Linked DNA regions of Homo sapiens: region 1 is linked to region 2. Evidence: promoter capture Hi-C in 16 types of primary human blood cells and fetal thymus (Javierre and others, 2016). All regions are on one chromosome and are shown on one strand. The core of a region is centred on a gene start or on the middle of the fragment in contact, and the rest is flanking DNA. Distances in the headings are between cores, read along the strand shown. Region 1 has its middle 17 kb from the start of FNDC1. Region 2 holds the start of TAGAP (T cell activation RhoGTPase activating protein).

Region 1 (7,280 bases), core at 3,307-5,806, 110 kb before region 2:
GAACACAGAATGTAAAAAAGGTGATTAAAAGCAGCCAAAAAGTAATGAAAGAACACCTGCAAAACGACTATAGTTAACAGCAGACTCCTCAACAATAGGCTGAAGATGGTGGAATATCTTCATACTTCCCAGAGAAAATAACTGCAAGCTTAGAATTGTATACCCAGCAAAATTATCTTTCAAGAATTAAGTAAAATAAAGGCATTTTCAGATAAATAAAATTTGAGAGTACTTATTACCTACAGACCTCTACTAAAGGAACTTCTGAAAGTACTTCAGGAAGAAAAGACTGACCTCAGAATAAAGGTCTGGGATGCAAGGAGAGAAATGGCGGACAAAGAATTGTGGAAATGTGCAGGTAAATCTAAACAAAGACCAATTGTAATTTGAGAGTACTTATTACCTACAGACCTCTACTAAAGGAACTTCTGAAAGTACTTCAGGAAGAAAAGACTGACTTCAGAATAAAGGTCTGGGATGCAAGGAGAGAAATGGCAGACAAAGAATTGTGGAAATGTGCAGGTAAATCTAAACAAAGACCAATTGTACAGTATAATTTTTAAAGGCTTAATCATAGAGTTTGAAAAGAAGACAATACACAAAGTATGTGGTTTTTTGTTTGTTTGTTGTTTGTTTTTGAGACAGAGTCTCTCACTCTATTGCCCAGGCTGGAGTGCAGTGGTGCAATCCTGGCTCACTGCAACCTCTGCCTCCTGGGTTCAGGGGATCCTCCTGCCTCAGCCACTCAAGTAGCTGAGATTACAAGTGTGTGCCACCACGCCTGGCTAATTTTTGTATTTTTAGTAGAGACAGGGTTTCATCATGTTGGCCAGGCTGGTCTCGAACTCCTGACTTCAAATGATCCGCCCACCTTGGCCTCCCAAAGTGCTGGGATTACATGCATGAGCCATCATGCCCAGCCAAAGACAATACACAAAAGATGAGAATGAAAAAGAATGAAATCAGTTGGGTGTGTGTTGTTAAGCATGTGCAAATGAATTTCTATTGTTCAGCAGGGAAAATGGAAAGTAAACTGTATAGTTTTTTCATTAAGTATGGCAAAATTTTAAGAGTAACAACTACAAAATATAGTGTCTAACTTCTAAATAAAGAATAGGATTTCAACATTCCTTCTTCAGTTATTGGTAGATAAACCAGATCAAGTAGCAGAGTATAGAAAATTTGAACCGAACAATTCCAAAGCTTAGTTTAAGCTTGGTTTAATGGTCATATATAGAATACACACTGTTCTCAAGCACACATGGAACATTTATAAAAATTGGTTATAAATTAGGCTATAAAAAAGCCATATCAAATTTCAAAAAAAAAATTATACATCTAGACTATGTTCTCTCACTATAGTGCAATGAAGTCAGACTTAAAAATCAAAATTTAAAATATATTTTCAGAAATCAAACATAGACAAAATCATAACACAAACTTTTAAATGCTCAGAACTGAACAATAATAAATCTTGTACGTATCATAACTGGTAGGATATTGCAAAAGTAGAAAATATATAGCCTTAATATTTATATATGAGGGAAATATAAAGCCTTAAATGTAAGGCTATATATTAGCCTTAAATATACCTTGTATTTAAAAATAAAGGATTGAAAATAAGCTGAATACCCCGTTAAAAAGTTAGGGGAAGATAACAAACTCTTTTTTTTAAAAAAAAAAAGGAAGGAGATAATTAAGATACTAGCAGACATTAGTGAAAAGGAACACAAAGGTACCATGGAGGGCGTAATGCAAAAAAAATGGTTCTTAGCTAAGACTAATATAATTGCCATATATTTAATGATATTTATTTTTTAAAAAGATAGAATGCACAAATGAAGAGTAGTAAGATTTAAAGAGACACAACTACACAAACAGTAGATATTAAAAAGAAAAGGCCAGGCGTGGTGGCTCTTGCCTGTAATCCCAGCACTTTGGGAGGCCGAGGGGGGCGGATCACCTGAGGTCACGAGTTGGGTTAGAGACCAGCGTGACCAACATGGTGAAACTCCACCTCTACTAAAAATACAAAAATTAGCCGGGCGTGGTGTCACATGCCTGTAATCCCAGCTACTTGGGAGGCTGAGGCAGGAGAATTGCTTGAACCTGGGAGGCAGAGTTGCAGTGAGCGGAGATCACACCGCTGCACTCCAGCCTGGGCAAAAAGAGTGAGACTCCATCTTAAAAAAAGGAAAAAGAAAAAGAAAAGAAGATTGCTATGAATTATCATACTTATTTTGTCTACCTATCATAATTACCTCATCTGCTTATCAAATGTTATGTTAATAAATTTGAAAATTCATATAAAATAAATAAATTCCTGGAAAATTATAACCTACAAAATTTGACTTTAAAACAATGGGAATGACCAATCGGTCCTGCAATTATTAAAGAAATGTAATTAGTAGTTTAAAATCTTCCTATAAAGAAAATAGAAGGCCCAGAAAACTTTATGGACAAATTCTAAAAACCTTTCAATAAAAATTGTTCCAATCATCTGGAAAGATTAGAACATTTCATTTAGAAAAACTAAACAATCCCCTTGTAGCATTCTTGTGAGGTTAATATAGCCTTGATGCCAAAACCAGACAAAGATGATATGATGAAGGAAAATTACAGACGATTAACTGATAAACATTGATACAACAATTCTAAACAGCATTAACAACCAAATGCAGCCAAGTCTAATCTTGTCCAAATTTGCTCTATCCCAGGAATTCAGAAGAGGTTTAATATTAGAATAAATGTAATTTACCACATTTAATAGAATGATAGAGAATAACCATACGGTCTTCTCATTTGACGCACAAAAACTATTTGATAAAATTCAACATCTTAAAAAAAATTCTTAAACTGAAAACACAAGAGAGATTTCATAAACTGATGAATAGCATCCACAAAGAACCAAGGGCAAACATCACTCTTAATTGTGAAATATGAGAAGCATGGATGTCCACTATCCTGAGGTCTATTCCACACTGGAGGCCTTGGCAAGGAGCTTTTATCTATTTCAGGCCTTTGGCAGTTTCTCCTTCTGTCCGTTGCATTGCTTGGCACATGAAAGACAATCTTTTCCACGTATCTTAGTAACAAAACAACACAACTTTATTTACTTAAGTAATCTTCCTTTCTGAGATCCTATAAAACATCCTGTAACCATATGGGGGTTATTGATTTAATTTTGCTTCATATATTTATTGACATTACATTACCATTATTTATTGGCTGTCAAAGATTTTCAGCAACACTCCTATGCAAAACCTTGAAAAGTCCTCGTTTCAATACTATGAATCTCTCTCCTCTGGACAATTTCCATTTTCTTTTAATCTCAACCAAGGTAGGTGAAGTGAGGAGACAAAAATCAAATGTGTAAATGTTTTCCTTTATTCATTTTACAGGAAATGTTTCAAGAAGTTGGGTGTGGGCATGGCTTCATCTCTTCACACTGTCTCCAGTACACACAGTTGTTGGTGATTGTGTACTCGCTGTGGTTCATCTTTACTTATGTTCATCTTTGCTTTATTTAGATTTTCCAAAAATCACCTAGACACTTTTTTCCACACAGGCAAGGAGCCCTCTGTGCACACAGGACATTACTTTAGTGATGTTACTTGCCCAGTTAGAGAATCTGAGTTCTTTTTCACATGCCTTCAATTCAAATCACAAATTATGCTACTTTTACAGATGGTTTACCTAAGAATAAAGTAATTGGCAAACATGATGTTAATTAAAGGAGCTTTTTGTATCATGCCTGTCCATTCTTTTGCTGGTATTTGCTGGTGATGTCATTATTTACAGTTGCTAAGGTGATCATGTAAGAATGCTTGGTTTTGGAATACTTAGTGTCCAAGTTTGTGGCTCACATCCTTACGAATCACTTCACTTATAAATGAAATTAATTTGACACTAGATCATTTTATCAGTTATGCCTCTGGCAAGTTAATATAAACCAGTTGTTTTTTTGGCAATAATAAATAATTTATTTGTTGGCCAACCCACTACAGCAAGCAGCATTTCTCTCACTTGGAAGTAAGCAACATCACTCTATCGGGAAATTGAAGTGGTATTGTATTAGGAAGATTGAATAGAGGAGACTCTCTGTTCATAACACAACAGAACTATTTAAAACAAATCAAAATAAAAATGAAGCCCAGACGCTTCCAATTGTGGGTAGAAATACAAATGCTACCTCCGATTGGAAGACAATTAGAGGTATTTGTCAAAATACTAAACGAACATATCCTTTAGATCATTGGCAAACAATAGAGACACACTCCGGCTAAATGAAGTAAAAAACAAACAAAAAACTCAGGATATTTGAAAAATATGGAAGAGCTCCCTGGATTAAAGAAAAGGCTGAATAACAAGGTCTCCAGAAAAACAAGATCAGAAAAGCTCTAGGGCAGAAACAGTTGCCAATTTCTCTAAGGCACCTCTTTCTGGACAAATCATTTCCAATAATTTTCCATTTTTGTGTTTCTTAAAAATTCAAGTTCCCAGGAGGAAGCATCTGATTGGGTTAGTTTGGGTGGCATGACCTCCCTTCTCCACAAGAGGGCGGCGTACAGAGTTTTCTGGACGCCGGACAAGCACAAACCACATGGATTTGTGTCAACAGAAAAGCAGAAGACAAAAATTAGAGATATTTTCTTATTACATCTCCATTTCCCCCAAAAGAAAATGGAGGTGTTATTATCAGAAAGAGAGAGAATGGAAGACAGGCAGATAAAAACAACACTTGCTCAATCTTCTTTGCAATATAGCAGTTCCACTCCAGTGACTTTTCAGACCGCTGGTAGAAGTCCAACTTGCTACCTCAGATATAAAGAACATGTTCATTTAATATTTTGACAAATCCTTCTAATTAGAGAACAATTAGAGGGATTGGGGACATTCAGAACCAACACTGGTTTCATCACGTGTTTTATGATCCCACCCCCTCTGCACCTGTCCTGGGCTGCTTGAAACACCTATTCACCCTTAAAGACTCAGCCCAAGGTTTACCCGCTTTGAGAAACCTTTATATCACTGGCAAACAATAGAGACACACTCTGGCTAAATTAAGTAAAAAACAGAAAACACGCAGTGTTCAAAGAATATGGCTGTCACACAGATGATGGATAGTATTTTTGCAATATTACTTTTAATAATAAAAGTAAAAAGAATACAGAGTCACATCAATAAAGCAGTAGTTAAGTAAAGTATTGTCCATCCAGACTGTAGAATTCTGAGAGCCACTAAAGTCAATGGACTGAAGTTACACGGATGCAGGAAGCTCTCGAATGCATATCAGCAGGTGGATAAAGGAAGTTTCAGAAGAGCTTGTGAAGCCTAAACATGTTTCTGTAGAACTATAAAGGATACACATTGAACAGGAAAACTCATGAGATCTAATAAGGAAACTTCCTTATTTTTATCTTTCACTGTTTCTTTAAAATATGTACAGTGGGAGTGGGAAAAGTTCTTCCCGACTCAGGGAGGAAACTCAGGCAGTGTCACGACTCCTGTGAATTTGTGAGTAATAAATAAATTCTAAGGTTGCTCTAAGTTAGAAACACTGTGTCAATTCCGTGACTAAAAATGTCAAATCCTATGTAATAGGCTGGGCGCAGTGTCTCATGCCTGTAATCCCAGCACTTTGGGAGGCCGAGGTGGGCGGATCACCAGGTCAGGAGTTCCAGACCAGCCTGGCCAACATGGCGAAACCCCATCTCTACTAAGAATACAAAAATTAGCTGGGTGCGGTGGTGCATGCCTGTAATCCCAGCTACTCAAGAGGCTGAAGCAGGAGAATTGCTTGAACCCGGGAGGTGGAGGTTGCAGTGAGCTGAGATCACGCCACTGCACTCCAGCCTGGGCGACAGAGTGAGACTCTGTCTCAAAAAAAAAAAAAGTCGTATGTAATAGTAAAAATTCCAAAGGATTTAAAATTGGATATTCTGCCACCGCCCAGCTGGAGCCCGCTGTACCTGGAAGACTGCAGAGTGCGAAGCCTTCTCTTCTTTCCTTTGATTTTTCCAGACCCTTCCAGAGTCAAGGTAGGAAAAGGAGTAGGAAGAACAGGAACAGGAATGTTCTTGCCCAGCTGGAAATGTTTTAGGCTTGCTTCACTCTCATGCGTGCCTCTGTGAGTTTCTAGAGGCCTCTCTGGGAAATATTCCACAGGGCTTTACATGATGCTGGCTGAATGCTTGCTTCAGATGGCTGGCGCCTTCCCTGCTCTTCTTCAAGAGTCTCACCCACGTGGATTCTCAGGGTTGGCAATCCCATTAGAATTTAGTCCCGTGAGATGCGTTTTGGGCTTCTGGCCTCCAGAATTGTAAGAGGAAACATTTGTGTTGTTTGAAGCCCCTGCGATTGTAGCAATGTGTTACCGCAGCAAGAGGGAACATGCACCTAGACTTGGGAACCTCCTGTATTTCTCAGACCCCTTGCATTTAGCTCAGTGGGGAATGTGACTGAGTTTGAGTTCTGGCCAGTGGAGTGTAATGAAAGTGGCATACATTACTTCCAGTCCTGGCTGGTAAAACATCCACAGGACTGTCCATGCTTCTGGTGGTCAGCCTGTAGAATGGAGAAAATCCAGCAGCAGACTCTGAGGCCCTTGGGGACAGCCGAGCTAACAGGAGGAAGGACCCTAAGTCCCAAAACACCCCTCACTCTGTCCTGCATTACAATCTGATATGAACAAGAAATACACCTTATTATAGTAGGTCACTTAGATCTTGGGACTGTTTGTTAAAATAGCTAATGTTTAATCTACTTTGAACACCCAGAATTCTATTTCTTAAATGGTAAGAAATACATAAGAGCAAACTTTGGTTGAACTTGACCAAACTACTTTAGGCCAGTTTATTTCCCAGTTTACTTCCCAATAGCTCAAATATCTACGACGGGTAAATCCACACATGATCTCCTAAACCTAAGTGTTTTAGCCAGAAGTGGGCAGTGAACAATGCCAGTTGTCTTCTCATACAAGTTGTATTAGTCAGTGTTCTTCAGAGGGGCAGAACTAATAGGATAGATGTGTATATAAAGGGGAGTTTATTAAGGCGTATTGATTCACACCATCACAAGGTGAGGTCCCACAACGGGCCGTCTGCAAACTGAGGAGCAAGGAAGCCAGTCCAAGTCCCAAAATCTCAAAAGCAGAGAAGCCGACAGTGCAGCCTTCAGTCTGTGGCCAAAGGTCCAAGAGTTCCAAAGCTGAGGAATTTGGAGTCCAATGCTCAAGGGCAGGAAGCATCCAGCACGGGAGAAAGATGGAGGCCAGAACA
Region 2 (6,726 bases), core at 2,231-4,730:
ATTTCAGGAGGAGGGAACAATTTATCAAAGGCCTGGAGACTCAGAAGCACACTTTTAGGGGATGACAACAGCCTGTGTGGCTAAAACATAGGACAAGTGGGAGATGGGGAGGACGGATAATCAGAGAAAAGGCTGGATTGCCCTTTTTTAAAAAAAAGAAATTGTAATTTGAGTTTTCTAGAAAATCAACCTGTTAATCAGTCATTAGGTAGCCAGACACTGGGGTGATGGAGAAGTCCTGAAGGAAATCGTGAACTCTTTGGGAAAATAATCTTCAATGCAGGAAACTGTTGACATTAATCTCATTACAGAATGCAGGGCTCTGAATCACTGGGTGGTCCCAGGAAGAGAAAGGGAAAGTGAGTTCAAACTGAAGAGCCGGACTCTAATCCTCCAGTTGGTGTTTCCCAGGCAAGCTGGGTAAACAATGTGGGGAAAATGACTTCCATATTCTCGTTCACAACAGTCCAGACTGAAGCGGTAACTGAGCCTGAAAGTATGGGAAGGAACGATGGTGCTTCCAGTCACCCTCCAAAGCACACATGTACACAGCATAGAACTCACAGTCCCCAGAACGGAACTCACTGTCCTTAGAGACTCACCACAAGAAAAGCAAAGCCAATTATTTGCAGAAAAATTGATTGTGACCAGGACCCAAGCGATAAAAGTCCCACTGTGAGAAGCATCTTTACAGGTGTGGGTTTCACCGGGGTTTCCTTCAGCCCAACCCAGCAAAAGCCACTGAAGTTCCTTTCCACGTTCTGAAGACTCTTACTATGCAGGACGATGAGAGCTTGCTTTTCAAAGAGATGTGTGGGAGACAAGAATATGGAAAAAGTGAATCTGACATTTCCATCTTTTTTTCTAACTTTTGGCATGACTGCTTCCAAATTTTACACTTTATTTATAAATGTTTCTCCTAGTGCTCGGAAAACTGCGATCAAAATTACTGTGAGATTTTCAGAGTTGAGGGTGCAGCACCTGCCCTTCACAACTCTTTCTCTTTCCACAGTAGGCGCCATATGCAGGCGGGGCCACAGTCATAAAGGAGAACGTCTCCTCAGTCCCCCAGCAGCACCAGCCAACAATGGTGGCTTTCCTTCAGTCACAAAATGTACCTATTCATTAGATGTTGACTGTCAAAATCTCCCAGGGACCCCAAAGGATGGCACCTCCCTCTGGGCTTTCCCACCATCAGTTGTGTCAATAAGAAGAGCCAAAACATATTTCTGTTTCAAAAAATGGAGGGGCCCTAATTCTGTTGCCGTATTTGCTACTAACTTTTCATCCTAGATAGTTCCCTGGGTGCTTAACTAGGCATGGTAGGTCCCAGAAGAAAAAGAAAAGTCCGTCGATGTAACCATTTCTGCAGGTCATCAAACCATTCATGTTATGTATTTTTAAAAGATGCTGAGGCTGGGCACAGTGGCTCACATCTGTAATCCCAGCACTTTGGGAGGCCAAGATGGGTGGATCACCTGAGGTCAGGATTTCCAGACCAGCCTGGCCAACATGGCGAAACCCCATCTCTACTAAAAATACAAAAATTAGCCAGGTATGGTGGCGCGTGCCTGTAATTCCAACTACTCAGGAGGTTGAGACAGGAGAATCACTTGAACCCAGGAGGCAGAGGTTGCAGTGAGCCGAGATCACGCCATTGCACTCCAGCCTGGGTGACAAGAGCGAAACTCCATCTCAAAAAAAAAAAAAAAGAAAGAACAGTAAGTACATTAAGTTTCTTACAAAAATTTGAAAAGTCCGTTTGTCGGGAAAAAAAAAAGTTTAGAAAATACATACTAGCAATGAATATACATCACATATATATTCTATGATATATAGAACATTATAGTAATATTCTATTTTGGCTATTTTATAAGGAAATGTATATATTCAGAAATTAGTTATTTAGTACCTACTATATGCCTAGCACTAGGCTGGGCACAGCGTAAATGCCCTTTTTCAATTAAAAAAATCAGTGAGTTCACTTTGGAGGTTTATAAAGGCAGGAGAGGGATGCTGAAAGAGTGGTGGCCTCTACAGCTGCCCTGGGAACACTGGGTGAACTCTGGCACTGTGGTGGCTTTCAGAGAGGGAGCCCCCAGCTGGAAGCCTGAAAACCAGGATCTGTCCCTAGGTCCCCACCGAGCCGCTAAGTTACAGAGCAAATTTCGACCTCTCTGTGCTTCGGTTTCCCAAAGTCTGCCCCATAATCACCTCCTTTCAGTAAAATGACAAAAGAACTGACAATGCGGAAAAGTCTTAAAATTAAAGATGCTGATGATAAATGAAGCCAAGTTATTTTAAAACTTTTTATTGAAAAATTACATAAATAGGGAAGTGTGCACATAAGCCTAGCACCACCCAGATCAAGAATGGACCATCACCAAGCCCCCCGCTGGCCCCTGGAAGTCATTACCATCCCCTCTGGGAAACTGCTACTCTTGCTTCCAACAGCACAGACGACTTTTGCTAATTTTGTGCTTTGCATTAATGGGAGCCGGCAGGATATACACTTTCACGTCTGGCTTCTTTTGCTCAGCGTCATATTATGAGATCCAACCATATTGTTGGCTATAGTCATAGGCTGTTCATTATCAGTGCTATACAACATTCATTCCCTATGTGAATGGATCACAATTTATGCATCCATTCTCGTGTCGAGGCATTTGAGTGGTTTCATATATAGCCCTTGATCTACAGAAAAGATCAGAAATTCTCTTATGCAGAAGAGTGATCCACAAATGAAATTCACCATCTCTTTCCTACTTTAAGTTGGTCTGATCAAAGGAATTTTTTTGTTTGTTTTCCTTCCGTGTCAGAACGACAGCTGCTCTGACTGTAAATTAAGTATCAATACTTTTGACCAGGAGTTACAGAAAGGAGGAGGGGGTTACTATATTGACAACTGACTCGAGGGAGTTTTCTTTCTACTTCCAAAGGAAACTAACCTGGCTTTGGACGGTGATTGTTCCTCAAGGAAGGGACTGTCTTGGGTTTCTTTCTGGTTCTGTAACAGTGTCCCACATCCAGGGGTGCTAATCAACGTGTGGTGCTGGTGGACAGAGCAGATGGCACGTGGGAGGGGAAAGAGCACCCAAACAGGATGCAAAAAGAGGCACTTGAAATTACCACTTTAGAAAATAAAGTGATGTTTATGCACAGAATAACACAATTTCTTGTTCACACATCCCACCTATGACATTAATCAGAGCCTTCACCTATGGGCTGAATGTCATGTTTTCCACTCCTAGTAGTTTACAGATTTTTTACTTTGAAGTGGAAGACACAAAAAAAAAAAAAAAAAAAAAAAAAAAAAAAGACATAGCTGCCCTAAAAGGAATGAGGAAGCGAGAGCTCTCCAGTGTCTGGCTGGCTCCGTCCGTGTGACAGCCCATGATGTTCTTTCCGGTCTCTGTAATATTCTGAATTTCCACCTGCCCGCCCCTTCGCTTATAATGCAGAGCATGTGAAGGGAGACCGGCTCGGTCTCTCTCTCTCCCAGTGGACTAGAAGGAGCAGAGAGTTATGCTGTTTCTCCCATTCTTTACAGCTCACCGGATGTAAAAGAACTCTGGCTAGAGACCCTCCAAGGGTAAGTACACTATATATTAACATGCCTAGAAATTACAAGCTGCCTCGCAAGTCACAGGTCACTCAGATCACAGGCAACAGAAAACAGCTATCCCGTGGAATATGCTCTCACTTTATAAAGTCTCAGGACAAAGCTTTGCTTCAACGTGAAGGCTGCACCTTTTTGGTGTAGGAGTTCTGTAAATGTTATCTTTGTTTCATGTTTACTATTTTAGCATCCTAGGGATATGTTTTTTTTTTTTTCCTTTTTGGATTAGATGAGAAAATCCATGCAAAGCACCTACTACGACAGCTGGCATATAGTCAGCACTCCACCAAAAAAGTTAATGTTCATGTTAATTTAAAATGTTAACGTAATTGATATCCAGATTATCTCTTGATGGAACGGAATAAATTGGTAACAACGTTTAGAGTGGTAAAGATAGTTGACTTAAATAATTTAGAAATAATTGTGTTCAGATGCTGCTCTTAACAACATACAACATCTGGTAACAGAACTGATTTTAAATGAAAACTTGTCTATGTAATAGTTTTTTCCAAAGTAAAGGCAAGTGAAAAAATAGCAAAAGAGAAAAATAAATAAATAGTTTCAAACTCTGTGCTTTGGCAAAGTGGCGCTGAAAGTGGCCTACTGTGTGAGTCCCTCCTAACTCCTTTCCATGTGATTCGTTGTAGACAGAGGCACAGCCACACGGGAGTGAAATCCACCCCTGGACAGTCAGCCGCAATACTGATGAAGCTGAGAAGCAGCCACAATGCTGTGAGTGCCCCTCTCACATTCATTCATTCACGTTTCCTACAGGCAAGGGCCAAAAGATATTTACCTAATTTTATTTTTTCTCTTTTAGTCAAAAACACTAAACGCCAATAATATGGAGACACTAATCGAATGTCAATCAGAGGTAAGAAAGCAATTTTTAAGACTTTTTATCTGTACTGTGAGAAGGTGGAAAACTTTGTTTTAATTGAATATTATTTGGGTTGAATAGTAATTATAAGAGTAGTAAACTAACATCACACATGTAGTAAATTAAGCACATTAATTAGGATCTTATATGATGACAATCAAGACCTTAATATTGCTTCTAGAAGCTAGAAAAAACATCAATGCACTCTACTGACTTCATTTTTAATATGAATAAAATGCTGTATGTGTGTTTTGTGGGGAAAGACTCGATAGGTTTCTTCAGTCACTATATTTAACTGAAATAAAAATGTTTTTAGGGTGATATCAAGGAACATCCCCTGTTGGCATCATGTGAGAGTGAAGACAGTATTTGCCAGCTCATTGGTGAGTTTTAAAAACATACCGATCTTTTATGTAAGTGCTAACAACCAGTGCTCTTGGTTTGCAAAACCACAGCGCTTTTACTCTACTAGGAATTTTTTTGTATAAGTTGTTCTGTTAAAGACCGCAGAACATTAACCCTTAAATGGCAGGTATGCTCCAACTCACTAGAGCAGGGAGTGCTGGGAAAGGAAAGAGCCTCTCCATAGAGAATCCCCAGTTCTGCCAAGCGTTTTTAATGCGGTTCAATCTCCTGGCCATGTATGTTTCGACAATTAGCATGCACACATTTGAAAAACACACAGTGTCTTTTCCATTTTCTTCCTTCTCTTATGGAGAATGCATCCAAGAGCCTATGAAGCAACTGTTGCTGATCTCAAATCCCAAAGGACCCACCATTCACTCTCAACTTTTTTCATAATGCATTTCATTATAGCGTAACCCTGACCCAGTTCTCCTGAACCATAAAGACAGGCCACTTCTTTCTCATCATGCTTCCACTTGCCAATCTGAAATGTATAGAAACAGATGCCAATGCATTTAGAAAATATAGCCTTTATAATTAGTAAGAAAGGAGAAGGAAGGAAGGAAGGAAAAGAAAAGAAAGAAGGAAATGTTTGAGATTGCAATATCCATTGCACACACATCTTGTGGATTTCAGAAGGACAGAATATCTTGATAACGTTTTGCTGATAATTCCCAGTTGCCAGATCTAGGTTCAAGGCTTCCCGCAGCGATTCGTATTTGCCTCTGTCCTAAAGCAGCAACCTGGAAAACCCAAGGTGACCAGTCACCTGGAAGGAAAAATGGTGTTAGCTCCCTCTAGTGGCTGTTTAGTGCCTGCGTGGCTGCAAAGGGTTGGAGCCAGCCCTGCTATGTGCCTTCGAAAAGATATTCAGCAAGTCACTTCCTCACCTTTTAAGTTTCGTTTTCTTCGCCAGTTAAAGGAGGAAATCAAAATAATCTATTTCATATCAGAAATTTCCTCTATAGTTATTCAGGCCAGTAGGTTAAGATGGTTGTTTATGATCAGCACAGTTAGGTTTTGCTAATTTTCTGTAGCAAACAGCTGGAAAGAGTGAAAACAGGAAAGGTGGAGGCCTTGAGGAACTCTGGTGTTGCTGTTTAGGGAACTGGTTGCCCTGGTAACAGTGTGGTTGTTTATCGGTTGGTTTTTCTAGATTAAGATTCACGCCCTTTGCTTTCTCAAGTTTTCAAAATTATTTTTCTCACATCGCATACTATTGACCACATTATGCGGCCAACGATACCCATTTTCTTACCTGGATCTTTGCTTCTTAACACTGTAGTCTAATTTTTCTCGTTGCCTTGTTTTCTTGGCTGTAGAAGTTAAGAAGAGAAAGAAGGTGCTGTCCTGGCCCTTTCTCATGAGAAGGCTCTCCCCTGCATCAGATTTTTCTGGGGCTTTGGAGACAGACTTGAAAGCATCGCTATTTGATCAGCCCTTGTCAATTATCTGCGGTGACAGTGACACACTCCCCAGACCCATCCAGGTAGGCGTGCATTCTCTCATAAACCTACTTCAGTTTTCAGTTGGACATGCAAAATACTCGGGAAATCTGAATGTCATTCTCCTATTAAGTTTGTAGGGACTGATCTTCCATATTTTCCACTCTTCAACATGGCACTCCCACATACGCGTGCAGTCAGAAGAATATCTGACTGCTTCCATTCCAGAAATTGAAATTAGTTGTATTTGCCAATGAGCTCAGAGCTATGGTCCCGCCATTCCTCTGACTTCACAGAGTGGAGAATGCTGAAGATTTGTAGCTTCTGAAAAGTCAAAAGGGGGAAACAGAATATAGACTTTGTGATCTGAAATCCAA

The links. The method cuts DNA at HindIII sites, captures the fragments that hold promoters and counts their contacts. A CHiCAGO score of 5 or more calls a contact.
Region 1: a contact is called between a fragment that was not itself captured here and the fragment with the promoter of TAGAP in region 2, in 2 of 17 cell types (naive B cells and total B cells). The highest score is 7.5, in naive B cells.

What each region holds. Positions count from the first base shown.
Region 1 is chr6:159,148,741-159,156,020 of GRCh38, reverse strand. No RefSeq gene overlaps it. Among named protein-coding and RNA genes, the nearest start is that of FNDC1, 17 kb to the left of the region's middle. The HindIII fragment of the contact is 6,680 bases long and covers 1,217-7,280 here.
Region 2 is chr6:159,041,745-159,048,470 of GRCh38, reverse strand. It overlaps TAGAP (T cell activation RhoGTPase activating protein), which reads left to right and starts at 3,480. Exons shown (of 10, transcript NM_054114.5): 1 at 3,480-3,592; 2 at 4,267-4,351; 3 at 4,440-4,493; 4 at 4,816-4,882; 5 at 6,227-6,393. The coding sequence starts at 4,325. It overlaps TAGAP-AS1 (TAGAP antisense RNA 1), which reads right to left. Exons shown (of 5, transcript NR_183546.1): 5 at 5,415-6,673. RefSeq lists enhancers at 5,777-6,046, 6,620-6,726. The HindIII fragment of the contact is 8,846 bases long and covers 1-3,727 here.